Linked DNA regions of Homo sapiens: regions 2, 3 and 4 are each linked to region 1. The links are contacts of gene promoters, found by promoter capture Hi-C in human tissues and cell types (Jung and others, 2019). All regions are on one chromosome and are shown on one strand. Each heading gives the region's core, a stretch centred on a gene start or on the middle of the fragment in contact. The rest is flanking DNA. Distances are from core to core; before and after follow the strand shown. Region 1 holds the start of MN1 (MN1 proto-oncogene, transcriptional regulator). Region 2 has its middle 21 kb from the start of LINC01638. Region 3 has its middle 2.5 kb from the start of LINC01638. Region 4 has its middle 25 kb from the start of LINC02554.

Evidence for each region. Contacts are between HindIII fragments. The study calls those that stand out against the background at their distance.
Region 2: a fragment that was not itself captured here is called in contact with the fragment with the promoter of MN1 in region 1 in 1 of the 25 tissues and cell types used here (mesenchymal stem cells).
Region 3: a fragment that was not itself captured here is called in contact with the fragment with the promoter of MN1 in region 1 in 1 of the 25 tissues and cell types used here (dorsolateral prefrontal cortex).
Region 4: a fragment that was not itself captured here is called in contact with the fragment with the promoter of MN1 in region 1 in 4 of the 25 tissues and cell types used here (H1 embryonic stem cells, IMR-90 fibroblasts, lymphoblastoid cells and 1 more).

What each region holds. Positions count from the first base shown.
Region 1 is chr22:27,800,370-27,803,055 of GRCh38, forward strand. MN1 (MN1 proto-oncogene, transcriptional regulator) reads right to left here and starts at 1,387. Exons shown (of 2, transcript NM_002430.3): 1 at 1-1,387. The coding sequence starts at 174. The HindIII fragment of the contact is 23,630 bases long and covers 1-2,686 here.
Region 2 is chr22:27,202,222-27,204,907 of GRCh38, forward strand. No RefSeq gene overlaps it. Among named protein-coding and RNA genes, the nearest start is that of LINC01638, 21 kb to the right of the region's middle. The HindIII fragment of the contact is 5,933 bases long and covers 1-2,686 here.
Region 3 is chr22:27,225,797-27,228,482 of GRCh38, forward strand. No RefSeq gene overlaps it. Among named protein-coding and RNA genes, the nearest start is that of LINC01638, 2.5 kb to the left of the region's middle. RefSeq lists an enhancer at 612-1,811. The HindIII fragment of the contact is 4,081 bases long and covers 1-2,686 here.
Region 4 is chr22:27,284,523-27,287,208 of GRCh38, forward strand. No RefSeq gene overlaps it. Among named protein-coding and RNA genes, the nearest start is that of LINC02554, 25 kb to the right of the region's middle. The HindIII fragment of the contact is 5,633 bases long and covers 1-2,686 here.

The DNA.
Region 1 (2,686 bases), core at 137-2,636:
GGGTTCGCCCAGCGCGCTCATAGCAGGATCCACAGGGCCAGGGGGCCCCCCAGTGTGGAAAGCCGGGGCCTTAAAGTGGGTGTTCATGCTCAGTCCGGTCTCGTTAAAGTTCCTCTCGCCCTGGCCAGCGTTCCTGCTGTTGACCTGGGGCTCGAATTGGTCCAGCCCAAACATACTTGGCGGGGGGCAGAGGGGGATCAATAGGGCATGACAGCCGGCTCTCCGCGGCGCGCCTCCGGCCAGCTACTCGTTCCAGCCCAGGATTGGGCGCTCCGGGACGCTCAGCACCGCGGGGGCTCAGCGCGCACCTCCACCCCGCCTGATGTGAGGGACGGGGGGCGGGGTATTAGCTCCTCTCCTGAAGCTCCGATTCTGCCCGGGGAGGGCCTCTCACATCTTGCGAGGCCGCGGGGCCTCTAGGAGCCGTGTTGGGGGGCCCATGCCCCGGGCGGTTGTCACAGCCGCGGGTGGGTCTGCGGGGAGGGGACGAAGCCGCGGATGAACGGAGACAAAAAGTTAAGTGGGGGGAATGGGGAGGGAAGGGGGTTGGGAGAGCAGAGCGATCACCTTCTCAAGTCCGATTGGGTCTGCTGGGGAGCCCTCAGGACGCCGCCCGCAGCCTCCCGGAGTCCGTGGCAGAGCTGCTAAGGGCAGGGGAGGGAGACCCTTCAAAGCCGCGGCTGGCGCCGGGCACCGACAGAGCGGTCCCTCCCCCCGCCCCCCGGAGTCCCCGCGCCCCGCAGCCCGAGCCTCCACCGAGCACGATCCGCTCGCACAATCCCCGTAGGCTCCGGGCGAGCGGCTGCTGCTTCTTCAGCGGGTCGGAGGACTGGAGGCTCCGCTCGGCATCGCCGGTGCCGGCCCCCGAGCCGAGGACGCAGAGGGGCTGCGAGGCGGCAGGCGCCGGGGGCTGGAGCCGAGGGTCGGGGAAAGGCGCGGCTCCTCTGCTCGGCAGCGGGTGCGCTGCGTTCGGCGCGCAGCTTCGCGGCCACGTCCGCCGCCTGCCGCTTCTGTTCTCCGCCGTTGGGTGTCTGAGTTCGCCGGAGTCTCCGCGCACCGTTGCAGGCGCGGGAGGGCAGCGAGACGAGGGGTTGGGTCGCTCCAAGGCTCCGGTTCCCTGCCTCCGCGCTGAGGTGCTTCGCGAGTCCCTCTCGGACCTGAGGGAGGGGGGCGTACGCGGGTCGGGGGGCCACGCCGGGCGAGCAGGCTAAGGCGTTCCCGCTGCGCTCTCAGAGCCCGGAATGGGGGGAGGGGGGCGCGGGGGCAGCTCTGGGGGGTCTGCGCACCCCTCTCCCGACTAGCGGGGGGGCTCTGCGTGGGGCGTTCCGAGGGTCTCGGCTCCCCTCTCTGTGTCTGCCTCTCGCCCAGCGCCGGGAGAAGCAGCAACAAGTTTTGCATTTCAGCAATCAATTTCAGCCATTACATTTGCACCAATCAGCGCCGCCCAAGTTCCGGGCTCGGGGCGGGGCTCGCTCTTAAGGTGGTCCGGGGTCCTGGCTGCCGAAGCCCCCGCCACGAACCCGCACTACCCCAGCTCTGGGGTCCCCTGCGCCCGCCTCTCCTCGGGGTCCGGCGTCAGTGCGCTGGGGGCGCGCCCCGGCCTCCGGGCGCATCGAGCTGGAGAGGGTGCAGGCGGAGGAGAATGGCGGGAGCTTGGCTTTGTTCACCCCCTTCCCATTCACACTGTTCCCAACTCCCCACCCCCAACTGGAGCGAGACCCACCGGGTGGGCAGGGGGCGGGGAGGTGGGCGGTGAGCGGTACGGGGCGCTCAGACAATGAGGTCGCCAGGCAAAGACCCTAGACTCGCCACGGAAAGTCGCTAAGTGTCTACTGCACTTCGGCTCCGGGGTGAACACTCCGTTCTCCGCTAGCGGCGCCCAAGTTAGCCGGCCCTGGGATTTTCTTGGAGGGTAAAGCAGACGGGGAACCTCGAAGTTAGGGTTCTCCTCGAGAGACCTGGGCGCTTGCTCACTCCTCCGTCACTAGGGCGTTCACAATTGTTCCCCTTCCCCACTGCCTGGGGTTCCCGGTTCTCACCGGCCGGCGTGGGCTCCAAGGAGTCACAGTCACTCAGCCACTTTATGGGGGAGCACATCGGTTGAGCCCAGTAACCGGAGCGACTTGCGAGGCGGCTGGGAACCCCGAGAAGACACGCACGAAGAGGGCGCACCCGCCGGGCCGCACACCTTGCCCTGGGCCACCCGGTCCAAGACCCAGACCCTCTGCGGGTGCGAAGTTGGCCTCCTTAAGAGATCAATTAAACTGAAGAGGCCGAGGAATGGAATTGGGCTGTGATACTAAAATCAATAGGAGTAATTTAATATCTGCCCTGCTCTTTATGAAATATTTATCCCAATAATCTTAGTTAAAATGTTTAGATCGTCCTGATCCCCACAGAGGCTGAAATCTATCTTGCAATTAGAAGTTGGAAGTTAGAGGTGATGGAGGATAGAGGTGTTTATTCTGTGCGCCTGTGTGCGTGTGCTCGCGCCTGCGTGCGTGTGTTTGTGCATGCGTGTGTGTGTGTGTGTGTGTTCCTCCCTAAAGTGTGTGTAGGGAAGGAGGGGGGAGAAGGCCTTTAATTTTCCTTGCCATAAAATAGCACGAGGCGATTTTGCTAGCAGATTCGCATTCTTAGGAGAAGGGCGAAAAAAGAACTTTCTTTGAAGTGCCCCTGATATCGC
Region 2 (2,686 bases), core at 55-2,554, 600 kb before region 1:
GTGCTAAGGGACAGTGTCCCAAACCTCAGTGTGGCCCTCCTTCCTGATTTAGTTCACATCCTTGTTCTACCTTGGAAGATTTATTTTTTTTCCTTTATACCAACTTTGATTTGATAATACCCTTGAAATCAGAGAATGAGGTGCTGATTCTGTATGTTTTTTTTTTCTAATACATATGAATATAGACAAAAAGCCATTGAGATAAGAAAGGTAAGTTCATTCTTGTACCAACTAATCCAGTGCTCTGTGGGAAGTACAGGATTAGGAAGAAATTAAATGATAGCCTACAAACACACACACACACACACACACACACACACACACACTCCACTAACCACCACCACCACCACCGCCGCCACCACCAATGTATTCTGCAAATTCATATACAATTTGCAAACCTCCTCCTGAAATAAGAGAGAGAGGGCAATTGAAACTATCTAAGGCAGCACTTGGAACACGCAGGCCAAAGACTGAGCCAGGGAGGGATTGTTATCACATGGGCTGTGGGGAGGCAGAGCTCCCCTGTGTCCCCGAGAGCACCCCTCCCCGGGGCCCCACCAGCCCCCAACTCGCCTCTCGAATTCCCACCTCTCCCCTTGCTCTGCGCCTTTGGAAACCCAGACAGCGGCCCCACTCCCGTGATTCATCCAGCAGGAATGTGGGAGTTCTCGAATTGCTCCAGCTAAAGCCTTTTAATTCCCCTTCGGTGATGAATGGGTGAGGCCCTCAAATGAAATGTGGAGGCTCCCAGTCCCAGCCCGCGGCCCTCCCCCTCCTCGGCGTAATTATTTCTGTGCAGAACATGTCAAGTGCCCTGCTTCCCGGGAACTTGTTTCGCATGCAAACATTTGGTGATTAAGCGAGGCTTACTTAATTAAGCACTTTGTAATGACTCTTAAACCAAAGAACAGTGGATTAGGAGTCCAGTTCGTGCTGGTGATGGGAAAGGCAGCTTCATATCACAAGGAGGCAGACAGTGATCTGGTGTGGGGAGGCGGCCGGGCCAAGCGGGGCAGAGTAGGCGCTCTGGGAACTCTGCTAGAATCACTCATTCATTCATTCAATCAATTTATTTTTGGAGCACTTCTTGGAGCCAGAGTAGCTGGTGAACAATAATAATAATAATAATAGGGCCAGGCACTGTGCTAATAAGTCTGCTGAATAACAAGAGTGAGGAGGAGCCAGAGATAGTTATTGAGAGCTGACTCTACTAGGCATGAACTGCTAGTAGTAGTGACGGCAATAATAAGCATTTTCATTGCAGCAGCAAATCCTTGAATAGGATTTTGCTGTGGCCCTGCGTGCCCTGAAACTGCTGGGTTTCTGCCATGGACTTGGCCTTTGGAAACAGCCCCCATCTTTGTTGCTGTCTTACTGACTCACTGGCTTCTCACCCACCAGTGGCTCACTTCCCACATCTGTGTAATGGGTAGTTGGATCTAGATCTTCTCTAAGATGCTTTTGGGTCTTAGGAGCCTAGGGTGTCTCCTCTGCTTCTGGGGGCCACAGGAATGGTGGCGCCACTTTGGGGGCCTCAGCTGCAATATTGCAGAAGGCTTCAGAGCCCAGCCCTACACAGCTCCAGGACAGAGCAAGGGTGACTCTCAGCTCAGACCTTCATAAATTGTGGGACCTTCACCAGGTAGCTTGTCCTCTCTGACGGACAAGTCCTTCACCTCTCAATTGAAATAACCCTTCCATCTGCTTCCAGGGCTCCTGTAAGGGAATCACACAGACTCATGGACATAGATGCCCTTTGAAAACCATCTACCTGGTGGCAGAAGCCATCATGTCTCAAACTTGGACCCACGAACACACCCCAATGTATTCACTTGTCTACTTGCTTTGGTTTTCTCATTTCTACCATAACCCGGAAAAGGGTTCTAATTGCCTTCTAACCTGGGAGATCATCTTAGAACAAAGGGCTTCCATGTGACTTCAGTGCCTGAGTTGATATTTGCTTTCGCAGTTGTGAGATTATTGAGTAAAATCCAAAGGATCTCACAGCGTGGTTCCAATGAAGATTCTGCTGGTGTTCTAAGAGTAGTATGTGATGGAAGAGCTGCCTCATCACGTAGCAGATGAAAGCACAGTGGCCTCCGCAAGGTCCAGCCCACTGCATCAGTGCCAGACTCACACGTGAGTGGACACTAGACTCCAGCCCTTCACAGGCCAATGGGCAATCACTCACTGGCAATGAGGGAGGCAGGCAATATGCAGTGAAAACCTTTCTCTCTTTCTGATGCCTTCAGTAATTGTAATAGATGCTCATTTAATGGTGATTTCAAAAATCTGGCTTATGCAAAGCAGACTACCTTCTTGTGTACTCATGTGATGCCTCGTTAAGTTCAGTAGATTAAGTGAAATCTGATTTAACTGAGGTCTGATTATCCAGAGCTAACAGGCTAAAGTTTCCCATTCCACATACCGTTTTGACCAATACCCCATTTCAAAAGGCATTCTTTGCTTGGAATTATACAAGTTAGAAAACAAAAATAGAGTGTGGCAGCCACTGGTACTCTCCTATCCCAAGTCCATTCTTCCCTTTCTCCATAGCGACAGGCCCCTTATTTTATCTGAGGTGCTAATACGCTGAGCTAAAATATTTTATTCTCTGTCTCCCTTAGATATAGAGTTGCCAATGCGGCACAAGCAAAGGTTGTTAGGTGGGATTTATGAGCAGACT
Region 3 (2,686 bases), core at 51-2,550, 570 kb before region 1:
CTTGAGCCCAGGAGTTCCAGACCAGCCTGGGCAAAATGACAAAACCCCATCTCCACCAAGAAAAATACAAAAATTAGCCAGGCATGGTGGCGCATGCTTATAGTCACAGCTACTCAGGAGGTTGAAGTGGGAGGATCACTTGAGCCCAGGAGGTCAAGGCTGCAGTGGGCCAAGATCATGCCATTGCACTCCAGCCTGAGTGACAGAGTGAGATACTATCTCAAAAATGAATAAAATAAAATAAAAGCCAAAATACATGTTCTAGGTGTGCTTGTTACTACAAAGGTATTGCTATTTCTAGTTTCTTTCAGTAAATAGAAGACACACTTGAGTTCATTCTGATGCCTCCAAATTAAATCCAACATCACAAAGTTCTTTCTCACAATTCCCTCATTCCATATCATATCTCTCTGATTTCACGGTGAGAACCCCATTTCCCCCAATATCAACATATTTGCTCAATGGTTTCAGAATTACACTGATCCTACTATCAACAACTATCTATTCATTCAAGTTCAAGGTTTCTTTGAAGTTCTTGTTGTCCTTAGAGTGTATTTAATTGAGAGCACAGTTAGAGAACAGTGTTCAAAGGTTATTTGAGCTGATTCCCTTCCTACATGGTTACATTTGTATTATTATTGATTGTTGCTTAACAAACTACCCCAGAACTTAGTGGCTTAAAGCAACAACATTTCTTGTCTCACAGTTTCTCTGGATCCAGGTGTGGCTTACCTGGTTCCTCTATTTCCGGAGCTCTCACAGGTTTCGGTCAAGGTGTCCGCAGGGCTGGGTCCTTCTGGGGGCTTGACCGGGGAAGATCTACTTCCATGCTCACTCACATGGCTGTTGTGGGATTTGATTCCTTGGAGACTGCTGGACTGTGGGCCCCAGTTCCTCACTCAGTACATTGCCAGATGTCCTTCAGTTCCTTGCCAGGTCACCTTCTCTATCAAGCTCAGCACATGAGAAGCACCAGGGAGACAGAATACCAACAAGATAGAAGTCACACCCCTTTGGAACCTAATTGTCAGGAGTAACATCTCATTACTTTTTCCATATTTCATTCATTAGAAGTGAGTCACCAGGTCCAGCCAACGTTCAAGGGAAAAGGATTAAACAAAATGCTGGAGTATCCGGAAGTGAGCATCAATGGGGGCCACTTTAGAAGCCTGCCTAGCAGAGTTATCAACGTGATGTGTAGTTAGGCTTGTTTGTTTCTATTTGCCTTCAATTTTAGGGTTTGGTGTCTTTTTCAACATCTTTGATTAAATTTCATCTTTGAATCTGTAAAATATTTATATGATTCAAGAGTATAAATTATAGACAAAGAAGTCCCAAGAGCAGTCTCATTCTTATCTCCATGCTGTCACCCCATTCCCAATTACCTTCTTTTTTAAATTTTTAAATTTTAATTTTAATTTATTTATTTACTTATTTTTTTGAGACGGAGTCTCGCTCTGTCACCCAGGCTGGAGTGCAGTGGCGTGATCTCGGCTCACTGCAAGTTCCGCCTCCCCAGTTCATGCCATCCTTCTCCTGCCTCAGCCTCCTGAGTAGCTGGGACTACAGGCGCCCGCCACCATGCCCGGCTAATTTTTTGTATTTTTAGTAGATATGGAGTTTCATTGTGTTAGCCAGGATGGTCTTGATCTCCTGACCTTGTGATCCACCCGTCTCGGCCTCCCAAAGTGCTGGCATTACAGGCGTGAGCCACCACACCCTGCCCCCAATTACTCTCTATAGTCACTTTTACCCATAAGTGAATCCTGCCAGTTTTTACTTCTATGACTCTATATTCATGTATTTTTAGCTTTCCATATTTTTTAGATAAAAGAGAACATACCATAGGTACTCGCTTGCACTTTGCTTTTTCATTTAAAGCAAAAAAAGATTTAGAAATCATTTTCATTCGTAACAGTTATCCTCAATTTTTTTGTAGCTGCTTAGTACTTCATTATCCAGAAGATTCACAGTTTGTTCAACTGGTCTCCTATGAGTAGGCATTTAGGTTGTTTCTAATATTTTGCTACTACAAATGATATAATGAATAACCACATGCATTTGTTGTTCTGGGCTTGCAGAAGTATATTTTTAGGTAAATTCCAAAATGTAGGATTGAAGGGCTAAAAGGTAAACACATATGTGATATTGTTAGATATTTTCAAATACCCCATTTGCATTTCCACCAGCAATGTATGAGATAATCTGTTTCCCTACATTGTCGCCATGTTCCAACAGAGTATGTGGTCAAGCTTTCACCTTTTGTCAGTCTAAGAGGTAAGAAATACTATGTTTGGGTAGCTTTAATTTGCATTTCTCTTGTGCATGGAGTTGAACACCTTTTCACATTTTGAGGTCCATTTATACATCTCTTTCTGTGAACCATCTAATCACGTTTTTTCCTTATTTTTAAAAACTGAGTTTTTGGTCTTTATTCTTGATTTTTAAGAACTCTTTATGTATTAAGGACATCAACTACTTATCTGTGACATAGATTAAAAATGTTTTCTTCCAGCTTCTCTTTTGACTTCACTTTCGATGTTTGTTACAAAATGGTTATGCATTCAGATTTATCAGTCTTTTTTATTACATTATGTTTTGAATCATAAGTAGAAAGGTTTTTCCCATACTTTAGTCATACAGGAATCTATTCATGCTTTCTTCTAATGTTTATATGGTTTTGTTG
Region 4 (2,686 bases), core at 77-2,576, 520 kb before region 1:
CCTGCAGCATAAATATATGCAAATGTATTCAGAGAAGCGCTGCATGGCATGGGCAGATAGAGGCAAAGTGAGGAGGAAAATTCATCTCCGTCTCAGGGATTTTGCCTCTGATAGGGTTCTCCTGGAGATCTCGGTGAAACCTTCATTATCCCCCCTTCTTCTCTCCAATTGGTCCCCACATCCTGGCTGATTCTGCTTAAAAACTCATCTCTCAAATCTGCCCCTTCTCACCAGCCCTGCACCAGCGCACTGTCTCCTGCCTCCTTTGCTCTCCAAGGAGCTGTTTCTCCAGCTCCCGTCCAGGCTCCCTGCCTCCACCTTTGTTGTCTGCAGGATGGAGCCCCCTGAGGTGCCAATTGGATGGGGCCATGTCCTTGATGAAGGCCTTCCATTGGCTTCCTGTCATCCCCAGGGGGGGGAAAAGAAAACCCAAGTTCAATATCCTAAAATGCAAGGCCTTTGAGATCTACTTCAACACACGTACCTTCTCTCCTTGTGCCCATGGGTCCCATGCTCCTGCCACATCTCCCTCACCTTTTGTTGAATCCTCAGTTGCACCTTCAGACTTCTGTGCAAGCTGCTCTCTCTGCTGGCCATGCTCTTCCCTTCTGGTACCTGAGGAAAGCTTCCCTCTTCTATAAACCCAGCTCAGATATTGTTTCTTTGGTAACATCTTTCCTCATCTTTTCAGTTTGACAGAATTTCTCTTCCTCCTTTGTCCCTATTATTCATGCAACAATCAGAATAGTAAGAAGAAGAAAGTGTATCAGGTGCTAACTATGGCCTGACACTAGGCTAAGTGCTCTATATGGGTTATCTCATCAGATTCTGCCAAGGCCCCTGCCAGGGGTATTAGTATTATTATTAATTATTATTATTAATTATTACCTCCCTTCCCATTTTATAGATGAGGAAACCAAGGCTTCGGAAGAGGAAGTTGTTTACCTGTGGTTCCACAGCTAGATAGAAGGAAGCAGGCTGCTCTAAACTCATTACGGCATTTACATATATGTTATATTTTTAAGAGATTTATAGTTTGTGAAGCACTTTTTATATGCATTAAGTAATTTGAGCTTCACAATGATCCTGGCAGGTGTATGTTTGTCTCCTCCTCTTATCCAAGAGTTTTGTGAGCAGTTTCTTGGTCATCTCTAATTCCCTAGTACTCAGTGCAAAGGCCTATATTGATAAGTGTGGAATGGATGGTTGGATGGATTTGTAGTCAGATGGGTGGATAGGTGGGTGGGTGGGTGGATGGTTGGATGGATGGGTGGATGAACTGGTCAGTGGGTGAATGGATGAATGGATATATGGATAGGCGAATGAATGATGAATAAGTGGATAGGTTGGTGGATGGGTAAGTGAATGGGAAAATGGACAGATGGATAGATGAATGATGGGTATGTGGATGGATTGACAGGTGGATAAGTGGATGGGCAAATGGATGGATGGATAAGTGGGTCAGTAGATGAATGGATGAATGGATGATGGATAAGTGGATAGATTGGTAGGTAGATGGGAAAATGAATGGGCACATGGACGGATAAATGGAGGAATGGCTAGAGAGATGTCTGGAAGAGTGGATCAATGAATAAATGGTCAGACAGATGAAGCAATAAACCCCAATAAAGTCCTCACTGTCAATTCCAATACTTCCTGAATTCAGATGTCACATTAGCCATTAGAGTTATGTGAATGAGCCAAAGAATGAAAGCCCAGTATATCCCAGGCGTCTTTTCCACTTCCCCTACCACAATCCCCGTTCACTGCAGAGGAGCAAAAATATTCCTTCTGAAAAGCTGTCCTTCAGCATCTGATCTCCACGCAGTGGCTGGGCCTAGCATCCTGCATATTCACACACAATGGGGCACTGGATTCGCTGAAGGTGAAACTCAACCAGGAGACTTGGGAGTGGCACTGTGGCCTCCAGCCTGGGGAAACAGACATCCCATGCCACGCTGCGCTCCACAGCCTTCCCCGACCACTGTTGTCTGCTTTCTAAATAAACCCTGAGACAGAGCTGTGTGGGGTTATAAATCAGCCGGAAATCAAATGCTAACATGTAAATAAATTGCAAATCAGCTGAGAAATTGGTTTCATTTTGAGACGATAAAGCACATTTCTCCTGCACTGATTTTGTAAGGCGCCCCTTAAGAATTGTAATATTTCTGTGTGGTAATGATAAACATTAGTGAGTTGCTTTAGAAATGAAAAAATAGACAGCCTCTGGGGATTTGAAAAACATATGCACTTCAAATTTGAAAATCCAATTTAACTGTCCATTATAAGGAGAATAAAAAGGTAAGGATAGGATAATTTTGCAGTTACACAGCATTTGACTAAATCTGATTCTGCGATGACAGGCACACTTTAAAAGCTACAAGTCTGAATGCGAGGAGACAGCAAATCATTTATTTATGATTGTAATCTAGCTCCTGTCTAACAAGTTAGCGACTGTGCTGCTTGCTCTCTGGCTGCGGACGGCATGTGTACATTTGTCAGTTAACACTCTTAAAAATATTTCTCATGGAATTTCTGGGTTTGGAGGGGAAAAAAAAACAAAGAAGAGGGAAGATAAAAGAGATAATCCTTGTCTAATTTACCTAAATAGGCAGATGCTGAAATTGCCAAAGTTTAGAAAGAAACAAAACTTTTGTCTTTAATTTTTGCGGAAAGCAACTTTGGT